Linked DNA regions of Homo sapiens: regions 2 and 3 are each linked to region 1. The links are contacts of gene promoters, found by promoter capture Hi-C in human tissues and cell types (Jung and others, 2019). All regions are on one chromosome and are shown on one strand. The core of a region is centred on a gene start or on the middle of the fragment in contact, and the rest is flanking DNA. Distances in the headings are between cores, read along the strand shown. Region 1 holds the start of CTBP2 (C-terminal binding protein 2). Region 2 overlaps LOC105378543 (a long non-coding RNA gene). Region 3 has its middle 47 kb from the start of TEX36-AS1.

What was found. The method cuts DNA at HindIII sites, captures the fragments that hold promoters and counts their contacts. A contact is called where the count stands out against the background at its distance.
Region 2: a contact is called between a fragment that was not itself captured here and the fragment with the promoter of CTBP2 in region 1, in 1 of the 25 tissues and cell types used here (dorsolateral prefrontal cortex).
Region 3: a contact is called between a fragment that was not itself captured here and the fragment with the promoter of CTBP2 in region 1, in 1 of the 25 tissues and cell types used here (spleen).

Annotation. Positions count from the first base shown.
Region 1 is chr10:125,158,893-125,162,298 of GRCh38, reverse strand. CTBP2 (C-terminal binding protein 2) reads left to right here and starts at 1,736. Exons shown (of 11, transcript NM_001329.4): 1 at 1,736-1,980. RefSeq lists an enhancer at 356-965. The HindIII fragment of the contact is 19,174 bases long and covers 1-3,406 here.
Region 2 is chr10:125,490,204-125,493,825 of GRCh38, reverse strand. All of the region lies in intron 1 of LOC105378543 (a long non-coding RNA gene), which reads left to right. Among named protein-coding and RNA genes, the nearest start is that of TEX36-AS1, 82 kb to the left of the region's middle. The HindIII fragment of the contact is 3,548 bases long and covers 1-3,179 here.
Region 3 is chr10:125,619,580-125,623,276 of GRCh38, reverse strand. It overlaps a transcript of TEX36 not described here. Among named protein-coding and RNA genes, the nearest start is that of TEX36-AS1, 47 kb to the right of the region's middle. The HindIII fragment of the contact is 3,522 bases long and covers 634-3,697 here.

The DNA of each region.
Region 1 (3,406 bases), core at 487-2,986:
GGCACTCAGGGATGGAGGAGACCACACCGCGCGGCTGGGTTCGCGGAATGGCGGTCCCTGCGGCCTCCAAAGGCGGGACCTCAGACCCCTCCCACTCCTTTCCTGCTCGACATCTCAATCCAGCTCCTAATATCTCAATAGGGTTTTTAAACAAATCGATCCTAAGGGCTCAGTTCAGCCCACCCAGGGATTCTTGGAGGACGCACGCCGAACTCAGGGTAGTGAGAAGAGTTTGGGGGGCCCTGGGGCGCAGGGAGAAGACCCCACACTCCACGGCCACCAGCTCCCTTCCGGAGACGGCGCTCGGACGTCGCGGGTCACGGGCGGGGAATTTAGCCCAGGTGCTCGTTGGGCCGCGAGCGGCCGCTGGGCCTGGATTCCCAGGCTCGCTGTGCAGACTCCAACCTTGAGACGTCAGGACGGCGTGGGCTCCGGGCCGCCGCGCAAGCCCAGGACCCCGAGTCGCGGGCCCCCACGCCGCAGCGCGCCTCCCTCCTCGAGACCCGGGGCTCCGACCCAACACAGGGCTTCTCAAATGCCCCGGCGAGATCCAGGCAGCAAGAGGGAACCTTTTTTTTTTTTTTCAATGTGTAAGAATGTTTTGCTTCTTTTAGGGCACAGCACTGCTGCAACTTGCAGCACAGAGGGCCCTTCCCTGCGCACCCACAGCGGTCGCCGCCTCTCCGGCACGGTCTCCCGGATCTGGATTTGGGGAGCGCAAGTGCCCCCTGTGGCCGGCCCGCGCCTGACCCCGCGGGCCTGAGAAGGCAGAAGCGGCCGGTGCGGGGCACCAGGAGGAAGTTGGAGCCCGGGGGCCGGGAAGGGGGCTGGTTGGCGCCGCTGGCTGGGCGGGGCCCCATGGGACCGGGGCCACCCGGGGCTCGCGTTCCCCCACGTGGCCGGCTGCCCGGTACCCCACGTGGAAGGGGCGGAGGAGGATGAAGGGCCAGGGGAGCAGCGGACCCCGAGCCACCGCGACAGGACCTCGGCCCCTGCCACCGAGGCCCCCGCGCCTCCCGAGGGCCTCCCGGGCGGGGCCGGGCTAGGGAGTGCCCGCCGCGCCCGGCCCCTGGCCCTCCCGCCCGCCGCGCTTGTGTGCACTTTCGCGGAGCCACTAATCCCCCGAGAGAGCCGATTTGTAGTGAGGAGTATCTGAAGGGGGCGAGGCCGGCCCATGTGGGGTTGTGTCATTGGTTTGCAAAAAGAGACCCCGCCTTTGCCCCCCCCCCCCAAAAACAGGAGCGAGGAGTGAGCGAGCGGCGACCCTCACCTCGCCTCCCGCCTAGCTCCTGCGCAGCCAGCGGGTACCGGGAGCTGCGGCCAGCGCCGCTTCTTTCCTTTCCTTTTCTCTCCGTTTTCCTTCTCCTTCCCCGGAGGAGAAAACAAATAAAGAAGAGCAAATAGCCGGGAGGCGCTCGGCATCCAGGACGTTCCCTCCCCCGATCCAAGTTGGAATTAGCATCCTCTCGGGGGTGAGCGCGGCGCGGGGCGGGCCCGGGCCGGGGACCCCCAGCGCAGCCCCCTCTCGGCGGGCGGGAGGGCGCGGGGCCGGGACGCGGGGGGAATTGGGAACCGGGTGGGCGGAGGAAGGGGGTGGGGTGGGTGGGGAAGTAGGAAGAGGCTCGGCGGCGAGGGGAGGAGGTGGAAGGGAAGGGAGGGGTAGGGTGGGGAGGGGAGGGGAGCGGAGGGAGGGTGGGGAGGGCGGGAGGGGGAGGGGCGGGGAGCTGGAGAGATTAAGTTTTTGTGTGTGTGTCCCTGTGTGCGTGTGTCATTTTAAGGTGGCTCGGGAGCGGCCCGGAGGAGCCGGCGGCGGCCCGAGGAGCGAGGGACCGAACCGGGAGCCATGCCGCGCTGAGGGGGGGCCGCACAGCCGCCGCCACCGCCACCGCCGCCGGGTGGGGTGGGAGGGGCGGGAGACGCCGCCGCCGCCGCCTCCAGGGTGGGCGCCTTTCGCCGTGGACGCCGACCGTCCGGGACGAGGTAAGGGGGGCCCCGGGGGAGGGCTGGGGCCGCCGCCGCCCCCGCCTCACCTGCGGCCGCGGGCTGGGGGCGCCGCGCCCGCGCCTCACTGCGCCACTCAGGGAGGAGGAGGAGGAGGAGGAAGAGGGCGAAGGACGCGGAGCCGGCATCCGAGGACATCTTTGGTCCGTGCCCCCGGCCTCGTGTCCCCCCTCGGCGCCCGGGGGTGGACGCTGGCTCGGGGGTCCCCGCCCGCCCCCGCCACCGATTGCGCCCGCTGGCCGCCGTTTGCGCCAGGATTTTTGTTGTTGTGATGAGAGTTGATGAATGCGAAGTAGGCGGTCACCTTCCTTCCCATCAGGGTTGAAAAAAAAAAAAAAAGAAACCCCGAGCGCGGCGGCGTCCGGAGGGCAGCGGCGGCGGCGGCGGCGGCGTCTCGGCGACGGTTCCCTGGGCGCCCCCGGCTCCTGCTCCCTGAGCCCGGTGGGTGCGCGCCCGGGGGCCGCCGGCGACCCAGGCCGAGCGCGCGACGCGCCGCGGGGACAATACGGCCGGATCTCCGGGGAACAGGAGTCCGAGCGCGCCGGGGTGCGGCGGGCCTTGCGCCTACGAGGCGAGGGTGGGGGGGGCGCGGAGAAGAGGGGTTCCGTGGGGAAGTCGGGGCGTGAGCGGCTCTCGGTCCCCAGGGGCGCTGCCCCTGCCGGCGGGGGATCCCGCGCGGCTCCCCGGGAGCGCAAGTGAAAGACGGGAAAGGAGGCGAAGTGGAACCCTTTTGTTTTGCCGGCCCCGCATTGTTGGCTCCTCCGGGCAGCCGGGCCACATCTGCTGCCGCTGCCGCCGCCGCCACTGCCGCGCGGGGCTCGGCCCGCCAAAGTCGCGGCGGGGCGGGGGGCCTGGGCGGGCCGGGCGGCGGGCGCGGGCGGGGGCCGGGCGGGCCGGGCATTTCCTCTGCCCGGCCGCGCTCCCGCGGGCACCACTTCCTCCTCGCCCGCCGCCGCCGGGAGCCCGGCCCGCCCGCCTCCCCCACCTTCCCCGCCCGGGCCGCACTTTTCGGGTGGGGCGAATCAAAAAGAAAAAGTTTAGCAGGAGGGGCTGGCTAGGGCGCGCCCCGGGCGGCAGGGACCCGGTGCGGCGCAGGGACAGCCGGGCCGCCGCGGTTCCTCCTCCTCCCAGCCCTCCGCGGCGCCGGACGGCCCCGCGCGGCCGAGGGGAAGCGCCTTTCTTTCTCTCCCTCGCGCTGCCCCCAGCGCCCCGGGCGAGTTGGGCAGAGGCGCGCGGGAGCCGGGGCGTGCCTGGGCCTTTCTCCCGCGGGAGGCCCAGCGGCGTGGCGGGTCGCCTGCAGCCCACGCCGCGCCCTGGGGCTCGGAGGCCGCGGGCCCAAGAGCTCAGCTCGGTCACCGCGGGCCGCGCCGAGACACACACGCGCGCACACACTCCCTCCCGTGGC
Region 2 (3,622 bases), core at 156-2,655, 330 kb before region 1:
GGATGGCAGCTGAGTAATAGCCACTGGGTAATAGCTTCAGGGCAATGGCTGCAGGGCAATGATTGCTGGGTAATGGTTGCAGGGCAATGGCTGCTGGGTAATTACTAAAAGGCAATGGCAGCCAGATAATAGCATAATGGCTACTGGGTAATGCCTATGCTCGCTGGCATACATGCAGCCCGGGTCAGCTGCCAGGTGGGGTGGGTGGGGCTTATTTCCTCCTGGGGCACATCCTTGGTGAATGTCCACCCTCTGCAGAGCTGCTAACTGAGCCCTCAATATGCTGGAATCTGCAAAGGAAACATGGCCGATTCTAGGCAGTGAACCAGCTCCCTCTTTCCTTACCTGGCATTCGCATCACCACACTTTCCAGTGTGCTTCCCTGTGAGCTTTTCACCATCCCTGTCCCTCAACCAAAATTCATCTCAACCAAAATTCAAACTGAGTCATGCAAACATGTATTTTTCATTTCTGTCCAAGCAACTATTTATAGTCTCATTAACAAATTTTAAGTAATATAAGTAAATGTTACCCAGATAATCTTAAAGCCTTCATCTCACTCAATAAACATCTAATGAGAAATGAAAACTATGGATATTCTGTCAATACAGGTTGTTATGTAAATCTTCTGTCTAGTTTTTTTGTTTGTGTTTAAGAAAAATATTTGTTGGTGTTATAATTATTGTTAAATACAAATATTTAGGACAAGGTAAATGCATAAAATTTAGAAGTAGTTGCCCAGAGATAAAATTATTTGCCAAAGCTTTCATAACTAAGAATAGGAAAGGCTAGAATGATATCCTGGGTATTTTATTTGTTTTCCCACACAGTGCTTTCATGTCCCCTCCTGGTATCTGTCAGAATTTATAAATACCAACTGCAAGTTCAAGCATTATTTTCTAAATCAAAAAGTGAAATCTTTTTGGAGGAAGCTCAAAGGCTGTGCCTTGATTAGCATAGACAACTAGATTAGAACCACTGGCTGTAACTTGGAGCAAAATCTTGCAATTTTATTCTTGTCACTCCCTGGGGAGCAATTGCACTTGTGGGTGCATTGCACTCTGGCCTCCTTTGATCTCTTTATTCAGACCTCCTGTTTACTGCATTAAAACAATTCACTTCATTCATCAGCCAGTCTTTCTTTGTTCATTAGATCGAATTATTATTATTATTATTATTATTATTATTTTGGTTAAGGGCACAAGGAGGTGCATTTGGACTCATTTCTGTATCCTCTGTCACAGATTAAATTTTATTTTTTCCATCTTTTGAAAGAGTTGTGCTGTGGAGATTTCCTAGACTAAGTAGTGTGCTGATTTTCTTTTCCCTGCTCTCATCCCTCCTATTGGATGCAGAGTCGAGTTTCCTTGTTATCATTCTTGTAACCAAAAAAGCAAAGATGATCTCTTTGGAGATGTTTGGAGAAGCTGGGGATTCCATTTTCTAGCGATGGGGTCAAGATGTTTGGATTGGTGACAATATGTGTCCATCCTGTTCCAATTCTGTCTGGAGTAGGGAAGATTGCCTTTTCTTTCTCTTCCTTGCTATGCTGTTATTTGTCAGTCTTCTGAAGCTAGAAGGTGATGCTGTTTAGCATGTAAATAAAGCAACACTTTTTCCAGTAAATAGCTCTGTCTAGCATTATATGCCAGGAGCTCTCATCCACACAATGATGAATTCAATTCCTGCATTGTGCTTTCCTTTCCTGTCCTTTCACAGAGGGAAAGGTGATCACACTGTAATTATATAAATCCCTTTTACTTTATTTTTTCTGATTGTGCCTCTAATTTTCCTAGTCTCGTCATAGATAGCATTTCGCCTTGCTAATATAAAATTTCTGTGGCAGTCTTTGTGAATTAATTTACTTCCTATAGTCCAGTGTTTTATAGATGATGTAAATGAAGGATATGGCTTGCAGATCTATTTAAAGAGACGTGCTTATACTTCACTGTTTTGGCCAGATGAGTGGGCACATGCTTTTGCGTTTTTATTTGAACCCCCCCGAAGTTGGTCATTATATTTTGAATGCCACAGCACGTCTATACCATTATTTAAAGGATCTTGTTCATTCATCCATATAATGATTGGCATTGGCTATAACTTGATGCAATGTTACACTATTTTAATTCTTTCTCAGGCAATGTTATCTTTGATCGCTTCCTATTCACTGGGAAAAAAAACCCCACACAATTGCAATCCCACACTATGTTTCAGTGATGATGCCAAGTGCTCCCTGGAATATAGCTATTCAAGACAATTTCTCCACCCTCAGGCTGCTCATTAAAGGGATGGCAGTTTCTAACTTTAATGAATAAGGTAGAGTGAAAATTCCACTCTTCTTTGAAAGAGACTCCGTGGTTTTCCTTTTTAAAGTGTTTTCTGCTGCCTATTTCTTTGTTTAATTGGAAATGGTGTACACTCCTCCATAACCATGGCCACAACTCAATATGCAAAGTATTTCCTTGTCACATTTCCTTTTTTGTGGTTCAAGTGTGTATTTTATCAAAGAATTCCAGAAAAAGCTTTGTATCTTTCCCCCAAAAAACACGCCATTGATTACGTATAGTGCATCTAGATTGTCATCTTGTCCATGGGTAGAGTTACTCCTATATTTTGGGGATTTTACCTCCCTTCTTACCAAATACTGATTTAATATGTTCTTTTAACCCAGGGACATTCACGGCAGCTCCAAGTCCTCATTGAAAAGTTTAGCAAGAAAGAGCCAAGTAAGAAAGAATGACAGGGACCAGTGTTTAGGAAATGCTGCCTTCTTTTCAAAATCCAGTAGCCCCAAACCCAGCCAAACTTGAGTTCCTTTCTGTGTTTTAAAGGCATAAATTCTCTTTCTTCTTTTTACATAAATGAAGTCTAAAAATTTCTATTTATCTCATAGCGAATCACAACCATAAAGCAGGACTCAAAGTATAGGAGGGATTTTAATATTTTAAGACAAGTTCTGGGAGATTCAGTCACATCCCAGACTTACTGTGTTGGTGTAGGAGCAAGCAGGTCTGCATCATGCTAGGTCTTGGAGACTTTCTTTCCTTAACTTCCCCACTTAAGGCCAGTACCTGAACTCCTGAGCACCAGCAGATTCACATGTGTGCAGTAGTCAGATGAGAGAGAGGGACCCGTGGATATTAGGATGTGTATTCAAACTCTGAAGGTATTAGTGCTAATGACGAACGCATTGCTCTAGTTACTGTTTATTTAGCACTTGTTCTGTGCATGACAGTGTTCAGGCATCTGGAGCATCCAAGATATATACGCTATGATCTGTACTCCCCTGGGGCTTTCAAAATAGTGGAGAAGATGCATCTAATTTATTTGAAATGAGGAGAGAACAATAAGAAATAGTTAAAACTAAATGCTGGCTATGCTCAGTTAGCATGGGACATACTAAAAAAAAATCATTACTTATTTAAAATTCAAATTTCACTAGGGGTCTTGTATTCTTTCTGGCAACCCTAGCCCTGTGGATGTGCATGGTCATCAAGAGCTGAAATTGATGGTCCCACCACTGGCTTCTACTAGCTAACACACGCCACAAGTGGTAGAGTGACCACTTGCACGTGTACGCTGTCTTACTATTTACAAAGCATTCCGTATACATATTTACATT
Region 3 (3,697 bases), core at 1,145-3,644, 460 kb before region 1:
GCAGCAGTGAGCTCATGCTCATGGAATTCACTATTCTTACCATGTTCTCCACCATCCTGAAGCAGCTGGATTGATAGAACAGTGGAATGGCCTTACAACACCAACTAGGTGATGATACTTTGCAGGGTTGGGGCAAAGTTCTCCAGAAGGCTGTGTATACTCTGAATCAGCCTCCAATATATGGTACTCTTTCTCCCATAGCCAAGATTCACAGGTCCAGGAATCAAGGGATGAAAGTGGAAGTGGCACCACTCACCATCACCTCTAGTGATCCACTAGCAGAATTTTTGCTTCCTGTTACTGTGACACTATGTTCTGCAAGCCTAGAGGTCTTAGCTCCAGAGGGAGGAATGCTGTCACCAGGAGACGCAACAATGATTCCATTGAACTGGAAGTTAACACTGCCACCTGGCCACTCTGGGCTCCTCCTGCCTCTAAGTCAACAGGTTAAGAAGAGAGTTCCAGTGTTGGTTGGGGTGATTGACCTGGACTATCAAGATGAAATCGACTACTACTCCTCGATGAAGGTAAGGAAGAGTATGTGTGGAGCACATGAGATCCCTCTGGGCGTCTCTTAGTACTACCATGCCCTGGGATTAAGGTCAATGGCTCTACGACCATACCACACTGAATCCATCCCATCTCGTCTGATCTTGGAAGCTAAGGCCAATGGGAAACTACAGCCTAATCCAGGCAGGAACAAATGACCCAGACTTTCAGGAATGAAGGATCACAGTACCAGGTGAAAAATCATGATCAGCCAAGGTACTTGCTGAAGGCAAAGGGAGTACAGAATGCGTAGAAGAAGGTAGTCATCAATAACAGCTATGACCACGTGACCAGTTGTAGAAATGAAGACTGTAATTGTCATGAGTATTTACTCCTTATTTTGTTAAAAATATGTTTGTGCATGTATACACCTGTACTAAGGAAATATCTTCATTTTATTTCTTTTCTTTTTCCTTTATCATGTAACATAAAATTTATTGACTTCATATCAGCATTTAAGCGTTGTTTGTCTTAGCATTTAGGTTAAGGATTAGTGTGCTTCTTGTTGTACGAAGGATAGCTGTATTATGTTAGGCATAATTACGACCTTATTATTGTCTTTATGTGGAGATTAAGTATGATTTCAGGACATGTGTATGGGTGCCCAGTTGACAATGGGTAGACTTGTGATGGTTAATATTAGGTGTCAACTTGATTGGATTGAAGAATGGCTACATGGGTGGTAGAGTATTGTTTCTTGGTGTGTTTGTGAGGGTGTTGCCAGAGGAGATTGGCATTTGAGTCAGTGGACTGGGAGAGGAAGACCCGCCCTCAATGTGGGTGACAGCATCCCATCTGCTGCCAGTGCGGCTAGAACGAAGCAGGTGGAGGGAGTTGGGATGATCTGGCTTCCTGGGTCTTCTGGCTTCCTTCTTTTTCCATGATGGGTGCTTCCTCCCACTCCTCCTGTCCTTGGACATCATACTCCAGATTCTTCAGCCTTTGGACTCTGGGACTTGAACCAGTGGCTTCTGGGGGGCTCTTGGGCCTTTGGCCACAGATGGAAGGCTACACTGTTGGCTTCCCTGGGTTTGAGGCTTTCAGACTTGAACTGAGCTACTGCTGGCTTTTCTCTTTCCCAGTTTGCAGATGGCCTATCGTGGGACTTCTCTTTGTGATCATGTGAGTCAATTCTCCCTAAAAAACTCCATTTTATACATACATATATCCTATTAGTTCTGTCTCTCTGGAGAGCCCTGACTAATATAAGTGGAAAAGGCAATATCAAAAATTACACACTGGGAAGATACACACCACACCAGCACATGAAAACATGTCACTAATCATTAGGGACATGCACATCAAAAGCAAAATGAGATATCAGCTCTCATCTGTCAGGATGACTACTATTAAAAAAAAAACAGAAAATGCCAAGTGTTGGTGAGGATGTGGAGAAATTGGAGCCCCTGTGCTCTGCTGGTGGGAATGTAAAATGGTGTGACTGCTTAACACACGATGGCTCCTCAAAGAACGAAAAATCGAATTACCACATGACTCAGCAATTCCGCTCCTGGGTATATATCCAAAATATTCTTTGGATAGCTATTCTATATACTCAGAGTGTATATATCCCCAAATAATATTTTGAATATATACCCAGAAGATACTTGCAGGTATTTGGGGATACTGTATCTGTATACCCATTTTTATAGCAACACAATTCACTACAGCCAAAACATAGAAATAAGTGTCCATTGATGGATGAATGAACACACAAAATGTGGTCTATCCATACAATGGAATATTATTTAGCTTTAAAAAAGGAAGGAAATTCTGACACATGCTACAACATGGATAAATCTTGAGGATATTATATTAAATAAAATAAACCAGCCACAAAAACACACATGCTATATGATTCTACTTAATTGAGGTTCCCAGAGTAGTCAAATTCACAGAGATGGAAACTGGAATGGTGGTTGCCAGGTTCTGGGGGAGGGAGGTCTGAGGAGTTACGGTTTAATGGGTACAGATTTTCAATTTTGCAAGATGAAAATGTTCTGGAGATGGGTTGCATAGCAATGTAAATAAGCTTAACACTACTGAAGTATATATTTAAAAATAGTTAAGCTGACACATTTTATCTTATGTGCATTTTACCACAATTAAAAAAAATTGACTTGTGATTGCCTTCTGGCAGCAACTGTCACTGGCTCCAGCTAGTGTTCTGGCCTGGGGTGTGTTGTGAGTCCTTGACTGTATCTTCCTGATCCCTGTTTGCCATGGTCTGACAAATCAATGCTCAACACATCTTCACTGAATGTCAGAGGGAAAGAGGGAGACAGAGAGAAAGGGAAGAAGGAATGAACAGAAAACTCACAAAAGATAAATTACAAATGGACAGTAGCCAAATGAGGAAATGTTCAGCTTCACTAGTAATCAAAGAAAAGGCCATTAAAGCAACAATGAGTTTCCATTTCTCTTGACAAAATGAGCGAAGATTTTTATTATTATAATTTAAAACCTAGTGCTCGCAAGGATTTGTTGAGATGGGTAACTTCAGACAGTGCTTGTACATTTCTGGAAGGAATGTAGTAGTATATCTCAGCAGCCCTGTAAATGTTCATAGCTTTTGACCCAAGTAGGACAAATCCTAGGGGACTGACAAGATACTCAGACAAAGATTTAGGGGCAAAGATGCATGTTACAGAGTTACTTAAAACAGCTCAAAGAGCAAAGCTAAATACCTGGCAAAATAGAGAATGCTTAGGTACAAGATGCAACATTATGTAGCTACTAATAAATCATATTTTACAAGAATATTTAATGATGTGAAAAATTTTTACAATGATACATGCACCTAGGTGATATATAGATGTATATATATATATGCACACATATATATATATATTTATAAATAAATAGTAAAAAATGGTCGGGCGAGGTGGCTCACGCCTGTAATCCCAGCACTTTGGGAGGCGGAGGCAGGTGGATCATGAGGTAAGGAGTTCAAGACCAGCCTGGCCAATATGGTGAAACCCCGTCTCTACTAAAAGTACAAAAATTAGCTGGGCATGGTGGTGTGCGCCTGTAATCCCAGATACTCGGGAGGCTGAGGCAGGAGAATTGCTTGAACCTGGACCCGGGAGGCGGAGGTTGCAGCGAGCCAAGACAGCGCCACTGCACTCCAGCGTGGGCTACAGAGCGA